2 separate regions of the Homo sapiens genome follow, and region 1 is linked to region 2. The links are contacts of gene promoters, found by promoter capture Hi-C in human tissues and cell types (Jung and others, 2019). All regions are on one chromosome and are shown on one strand. Each heading gives the region's core, a stretch centred on a gene start or on the middle of the fragment in contact. The rest is flanking DNA. Distances are from core to core; before and after follow the strand shown. Region 1 has its middle 190 kb from the start of DSEL-AS1. Region 2 holds the start of TMX3 (thioredoxin related transmembrane protein 3).

Region 1 (4,068 bases), core at 825-3,324, 1.4 Mb before region 2:
ATTTTAATTTAATGAGTAATAATGATTGATTTGCCAATTTTATATTAACCTTGCATTGCTGGATAAATGGCACTTGGCCATAGTGTATAATCCTTTTTATATATTGTTGGATTTGGATGCTAAAACTTTGCTAAGGATTTTTGTATCTGTATTGATGAGGTATATTTTTCATCCTTATGATGTATTTTTCCATTTTATTGTCAGAACAATGCTGGCATTATAATATTTAGTTTCTGGAAGTTTGTGTATTATACATTCAGTTATCTTTTAAATTCCAAAACATTATTTATTATTTTTTCTGGAAAAATTTTATTCATTTATTTATTTTAGAGACAGAGTCTGGCTTTGTCACCAAGGCTGGAGTTCACTGCAGCCTGGAACTCCTGGACTCAAGCGATCTTCCTGCCTTAGCAGCCAAGTAGCTGGGACAACAGGCACTCATCACTATGCATGGCTATTTTATTTTTAACTTTTTTTTTGTAGAGACAGGCTCTCTCTCTGTCATCCAGGTTGGTCTCAAACACCTGGCCTCAAGCAATCCTCCTGCCTTCACCTCCCAAATTGCTAGGATTACAGGTGTGAGCCACCATACCTGGCCTTATTTATTTATTAAATAATATGATAGAGTTTCCCAGTGAAGTGACGTGGGTGGTGATGTTTCTTTGGGAATATTTGAAATTACGAACTAATTTTATTTAATTAATATAGGTATATTAAAGCTTTCTATTTCTTCTTGAGTAAGTTTTGGTAGTTTGTATTTTTTTTTAAGCTTTGTCCATTTCATGGTAAGTTGCAAGTTTTCTTGAGAGGAAAAATTAAATGTTAAATGTTGTAAATTTTAAAATATTACAATCAAATAATACATATTTGAAAGTGACAGCATAGAATTATTTTAATTACAGCTTTAGCTAATCGTTACTACAACCACCTTATAGACAAGATTTATTAAGATATGCAAACACAGAATGCCTCCATATTCTGATGGCATCCAATATTGAGCAAAGCCCTGGTTCCTTGAACTCTCCCCAGAATTATCTAGCACAAGCCCAAATTCTATAATTAACCCTTTCTAACAGTCTGTTATTGTGATGTGTTCTCCTTCACTGCAATGAGTTATCAACCTCACTTCTTCACCTATAGGTGGTTCCTGGCAGTCTTTGAGTGAAGAGCACTGACAAATCCAATTAAACTTTAAACAGAAATGAGATTTCTGTTAGCTATGCAAATTGTATACTGGTAATATTGTATACTGGTGTATACTGGTAATCCCTCTAACCCCATTTCTAATGCCAGTTGGGATGATAGCACTACATCATGTTTGGCAATGAAAAGTAAAATAGGCTAACAATAGCTGTGAAGAGTTCTTTGAGCTCACACAGTGATAAATCTACTTTTAAGTTCTCCCTTAATGTATTTTAGTACAATTAATTAGTACTATAGAACATATAAATGTTTAACTGTGTTCATTTTGTTTACTTCTAAATATTAATAGTCACACTAACATTGTTTTATAGTGATTTAGTTTTATAGTACATAATACTTGTTATAAATTAATGAGTTTTTGGTACATAAATATGTTTAGTAGGCTATTAGTAGCAAGATGGAATATTTCAGATGATTATTGCATTTGCATTAATTTAGAATTATTAAAAAATGATCTGGCTAACTAGAGTACAGCCTACAGGAATCAGATTTTAAAAAGTAATGTTAACATTCCAAATGTTTTTATATATTCTCAAAATTCCACTCGATTATGGGGACCAAAGTGGATCATATGTAGATTAAAAGCCTGATAATATAAGAAATATATACAAGAAATCATGAAAATTTGCTTCATTAGTAAATGTTTAATCAAGTATAGATTTGTATAATTTTTCTATCATGATCAAATGTGGATATTTTGAATGCCATTGTAATTTTCAGTAAATGTTGAATTTTTTCCTAAATATTTGAGTCATACTTCAATTTCAGCCTATTTAAGATTGGAATTTCTTAACATTCTAATAAACTGTTGAATTTTATACCATTATATTATTTTGCTTGTATTGAACAAAATGTCTTTACCATTTCAGGTCTATTTTAACCTTCACTGATTAAAATAATAATAATTGGTGTTTCCTTATATCTTAATTAGTCAGCTAAGGCCTATCACAATACAAAGTAGTTGTTCTTTTCATCTATATTTATTTTTTAAACCTTAACTTATAATTTTATCTAATTATTATGTTTTCTGTAATCAAGACAATCATCAAGTCTCTAGACTTTATAGCTTTACCATTATTTTCTCATCATTCAAAGATGAACATTTTCAATGCACATGTCTGCAAATCAGACAGATATGCATATTGGCTCAACCTGAAATATAGCACATACTTTTTGAATTAAATATATTGCCGTCATTACTTCTTTTGTCATTTTACTTTTTTAACTTTATTCCATATTTTTCACTAATTTAAAATGTGTTCAATTATTTTATTCGTAATAATCTTTCTATTTTAAGTACTTTAAATCCCCATTTCTTTCTTTTTTTTTTTTTTTTTTTTTTTTGAGTCGGAGTCTCGCTCTGTCGCCCAGGCTGGAGTGCAGTGGCGGGATCTCGGCTCACTGCAAGCTCCGCCTCCCGGGTTCACGCCATTCTCCTGCCTCAGCCTCCCAAGTAGCTGGGACTACAGGCACCCGCCACTACGCCCGGCTAATTTTTTTTTGTATTTTTAGTAGAGACGGGGTTTCACCGTTATAGCCGGGATGGTCTCGATCTCCTGACCTCGTGATCCGCCCGCCTCGGCCTCCCAAAGTGCTGGGATTACAGGCGTGAGCCACCGCACCCGGCCAAATCCCCATTTCTTGAGCCAGAAATTTATTTTGCCTGTATGACAAATTTCATGGAAAACCATATCATATGCTTTTATAAAAAGAAGTCTATTTAAATATATTTACAAATGTCATCCAGTATACACTATATTTTTCCAACTCCATTGGAAAAATTGCTACTTTAAAATATAGCAATCACTAAAACCTGTTAACTGTATCTACTCCTATTTCAGTGAGAGATGGTAGGTAAACAATAGAAATAAATTAAACAATAAATATTTAATGCCTAATATACATTTGGAATTATTAAGAAAGCAACTAATACTGATTCTGAAAAGAAAACATTAAACAAAAGCAAGATGATGTTATTAATGATTTGTCCTAATTCTTTCTTTACTCTATCTATTAAAGTTTTCTTTAATAAAGAACACTACCTTCGAAGAATGCTAGCATGCCAAGGAATAGACTCTCTTTTGTTGAATTATAGTAATAAAACACCTCTTGTTGATGGAGTGAAGAGAAGTTATATTTACTTTTCAAAAGTGTGTGTGTGTGTGTGTGTGTGTGTGTAATTTTTCACTGAGCAAAAAGAGAATGAGATATGTTGTAAACAGTCATGTTTTATTTCCCAGTTATGTTTAGGATTGAACACAGTTAAGCTGCTCTCACAAAGAGATGCAAAAATGGAGATGCACAATAAAAGTAGAAGTATATTTCTGTCTCATGTCATTGCAGTCAAGTAGATAAATAGTCCAGAATAGATAGGTAGTTACTCTCCACTGGGTTACCATGGGAGGTAGTAGTTATTTGCTTTTCCTTAAATATGTCTCCAAACGCTATGGTCTCTCAAACATAATACTGGGTAAAAGGAAGTTTATACTAAACAGCCATACCAACTAATTAAATCTGTGTGACACATAGAAACCGTTTTTGTTTCTCTGAATTTAACTCCTAATAGTATGTTTTATCACAGCATTTTTATTTAGCATTTTTAAAAACTTCATCCATAAAAATTCCATATTTATTTTTACAATCATAATTTAGCGAAGATAAGCAAATGTCTTTCTACTAAACTTTGGGAAATCTAGCTCAATGGTTCAACCTGAAAATAGTTCACTTAAATTTCAAACACAGTGTTTGGAATGGAATAAGTAACAACTTGTCAACTGAACAATGACAGAGTAAACCTGAGAATCAGTTACAAAGACTTGGTAACATATAAGAATCACACTTGTTCTAATGTTATTCTTAGAAGCT
Region 2 (3,964 bases), core at 1,378-3,877:
GCACATCTGCTTGCTCTGGAGCAAGGAACAATTCATTTTCCACATTTAGCTGACGAACAGTTTGCTCTTGGTAAAGGTCCCCTTTTTCAGCATAGGGACCTTTCTGGTGAGCATCCACATGGGTAACAAAATGGTTATTAGGAGCAGAATCCCTTCCTCCTCCTCAGGAAGAGTTGCCCCTGTTAGGACACTCTGAAGGAGGAAGTCTGTAGTGACACACCCCACAAGGCACTAAGTTTAATAAGACTATCTCCTTGTTAACAATCGTTCTTCTCAGAATCAAAAACTTCCTGTAAACAATCAGTGAGCATCCCCCATGACCCAACAGCATGAGCAGCGAAGTGCCCCCATGGGACTGTCAGGATTTTTGCTCTTACAGAACAGCACTGTATGATCACCCTCTCACTGCACCCATTTGGTCATGCCATCAGGTGTCCAGGTAGTCAATCAGGACAACAAGCTAAACTGAAACTAACAATCACAGCTTTATTCACTTACTGTGACAGTGCAAGTCAAGAGGTTTAAAAAAAAAAAAAAAAAAAAGAGGCACCAGCTCCTCAGTGTTCCATCTCTCCCCATGAAACAGCACCAGGTGAGTCAGGTGGATGAGACACAGATGGGAGAATTCATCTCATTTCCTACAGCACTGAACAAAAGTCTTCTGTCTCTTTATGGGGGGTGAGAGAGAAAAGGACTAGAGTAGAAAAGTGCCTCCGCTGACACCCTCAATAAAGATGTTTTAGCAGAAGTGCTCAGGAAATGCCTCAGGTGAGGTCCCAATAAGGAGGCTGCTAAACAGAGACCACTGGGTTGGGAGTGTAGACATGCAAATGAGCGTGGCTGGCCTGGGAGGCCGAATCCTTGACTACCACTCCCTCCAGGGACTGTAATGCACCGGTTATACACCAAGTTTGGTGTAGGGAGGGCACCTTCCCCTATGCCAGAAAAAGCCTTGCAATTGTCTATGGTCAAGCCTGAAAGATCACACACAGGAATTTGGGTCTGAAGTGAACCTCCTCACTTACTATAAGCAAGGCTGATTAATGCTGTCATACTATGAAGATAAATACAGTACAGTTACCAAATTCTAACACCCATTCAATATAATTAAAGGAAAAAGACATAAATACAAGGTAAGATAATGAGGAAAAAAAGAATATGTAAAAGTTTGCCACAGTTTTTTGATCTCATAACTATTAATAAAACTCTTCTGGGCACACCCTCACCTTCACTTACAACAAGTGAAAAAAATGAGTGATATATAAAAATTGGTTCCAATCTAAAATATTAGAATCACATGCAAATATTCAGATATCTGAGTTGGACAGTTAAAATAATATTTTAAATATATATATGTATACTCACGATTCATCTAAATCTTCTACAAATCCTTTACAGACGACCATATCAAGTACAACAACTGAAAAAAAAAGACAAAATGTACACAATAAATGCTGATTATTTGGCTCATACCGTATAAGCTTAGTCATCTCTGAAGTGTTTTTGACCTTTCACAACCTACCAAAAAATTCATCACTGATGCATCCCAGGGTGCAAATGATGCAAAAGCAAAGGTAGTTCATCCATTTAATAAATATTTAGTCTGTATGCAACCATATCGTGACCGGCCAAGTTCTAGGTAAGCCAATAAATCTAATACACACAGTTCCTTTTTCCTCCATATTTTCACTCTCATCTTACGTCTCTTTTTAACCATCCTATCTTTTTGGAATACAAATAGACAGCATTCTTCTTTATTTCTTTTGCTTTAGTAGCAATTACCTCTTCCGTAAAAACTCCAAATGCCATTCAAAATATTTCCCCTCAAATAGATACGTAGGAAGAAAGTCGAGCTGCAACTCTAATACTTATTACACGGCAGTGCCTGACACAGAGTGGGCTCTAAAAGGTTGTTAAGTGAGCGGACCCCAGTGAGAATGAGGGCACTCCATGCTGACGGGAGGCAGCTGAGAACCGCTGACACACACTCAGGTCCTTTTCACACCGCACAATCCCGGCGGCCTGACCCTGATCTGTCCTCGACCACCCTCTCTTGAGTACTGGTGGTAAAAATCCTTAAACGTGACAAGACTCGGAACCTAAAGCCAAGGCAAGATTTGGTCGTTAAGCTGGGACGGCGGCATCCTTCTTGCCCATCAAAGGAGTAAGCTTTATTGAAACTTCTGCCACAATGAGAAAAACACAAACACAAGGCAGCGCGCCCTTCCCACGTCCAGCATTGGTCCGGCACAGCGGCGGCGGAAGGACCCCAAGGTGTCCGCTCCGTCAGGGCCAGGCAGGGTGGCGCGGCGGGGGCGGCAGGACGCTGCCGGGAATGGGTGGGCATCTCCACGAACCCCGCAGGCCTCGCCCCAGACCCGGGTCCAATCCCGGCCCCACGGCGGGGCCAGGTCCCACGCGCCCGCCAGCGTCCCGACCGCTGAGCCCCCATTACCTGTGGCGCAGAGCCGCAGGGCCGTCCAACTCTTCCACGCTGCCATGCTAGCCCGGGAGAGCTGCAGAAGCTGACTGTGCAAAAGAGGGATAAAGACACTGGGGTCCGCCGCCTGCCCGCCCGGAAAGGGAAACGGAGCCGACCCGGAGCGGAAGAGAAGCACCGCGCTAACTACGGGGGCGGGGCTACCCGGCCAGTCTCCGTCTCCGGCTATGCGCGGGAGTGCGGCGCATGCGAGGGGAGTGCGGCGCATGCGACAGCGCCTGCGCAGTCATGTCTTAAGAATCCTTTGCGCTCTCGGTGCCCCCCTCCACGCCCAGGAGCGTGGGAACCCTGCTTAAGGGCTTTACTAGGGAAAACGGTGCTGGTTCACTGGGGCGCGTTTCCGGGAAGGTGAATACCGGTGAAAGTTATGCTGAGGGTGAGGTAGGCTCTGACGACGCACTTGCAGGTTGAATACTGGCACATCATTTACTTGTTACTCCCGTGTGGTGAGTGCACCTGTGGGTTTTGATGCTGGATCAAATTCCTGGAAAGAGGCGCGCATTAAGACTGCGGATTGCTGAGCTGCGCGACACTCCGTATTTTTCCAAAACGTATTTGTAATATTCTTTCAACCTGTTTGCATAATGGGACATCTCTTAAATGCAGCAAGCTTTAATGCATTTTTGCCAAAGTAAGGATTGCCTCTTTAAAAACTTTCTCTTGAAACTTGAGAACATGAAGTTAAGCGTAGGATATTTTTTGATGGCTCTTTTCTGATTATTTTGGAACTAGATAAAGTAGTATGAAATATTTATATTGCTACCTGTTTTTTCTTCTATACGACAATGATTTGTAAAAACCATATACTTTTATAAGACGGTTACTGCAGCAATCACTACTTACGAACTAGATGAAATTTTTATGGGACATAAGGTACCAGAGAATTTAGATCAAACCAAATTTTGAAAACCTGTGACAACAACAGAAGGGGGATATGATGTCAGCCGGTTCACCTTAGGTTCAAAATTCCAACAGGCAAAAATGTCATAAAACGTCGTTATTCCTAGTGACTAGAAGATTAAATTGCACTCTAATTGAGAGCAAGCCCTAAATGTCACCCCCTTTGTGCATGCAGCATGGTATCCAGCGCAAGCCCTCTACAGATTCAATTTTTCTTTTTCTTTCTCTTTTCCTTTTTTTCTTTTTTTTTTAAGAAAAAAGTAGACTAAAACGTAAGGGGACTGTTGAAATGATGGGAATGTTCTCCCGGTGGTGGTGGAACAGCTTTATAATAGTACCATCGCCTCGATACTCTTATACAGAAGCTTTTCTACTTTCTTGGCAAGGTCTCTGAATGACCCATATTCAATTTTTTTTTTTCATTCTCATGTATTTCAAAGTTTTCTGTCTTCCACAGCATGCAAAGTGAAATAATTTCCTCTTATATTTGCGTTACAGTTTAAGTTCACATGTGGACAACAACAAAAGCCAGTTGACCTAGATCTGTGCTTTTCAGTAGTGTAG

The links. Contacts are between HindIII fragments. The study calls those that stand out against the background at their distance.
Region 1: a contact is called between a fragment that was not itself captured here and the fragment with the promoter of TMX3 in region 2, in 1 of the 25 tissues and cell types used here (H1 embryonic stem cells).

Annotation. Positions count from the first base shown.
Region 1 is chr18:67,322,895-67,326,962 of GRCh38, forward strand. No RefSeq gene overlaps it. Among named protein-coding and RNA genes, the nearest start is that of DSEL-AS1, 190 kb to the right of the region's middle. The HindIII fragment of the contact is 7,158 bases long and covers 1-4,068 here.
Region 2 is chr18:68,712,481-68,716,444 of GRCh38, forward strand. TMX3 (thioredoxin related transmembrane protein 3) reads right to left here and starts at 2,628. Exons shown (of 16, transcript NM_019022.5): 1 at 2,456-2,628; 2 at 1,366-1,420. The coding sequence starts at 2,501. It also overlaps a transcript of CCDC102B not described here. RefSeq lists silencers at 2,276-2,375, 2,556-2,685 and an enhancer at 2,886-2,955. The HindIII fragment of the contact is 1,612 bases long and covers 1,826-3,437 here.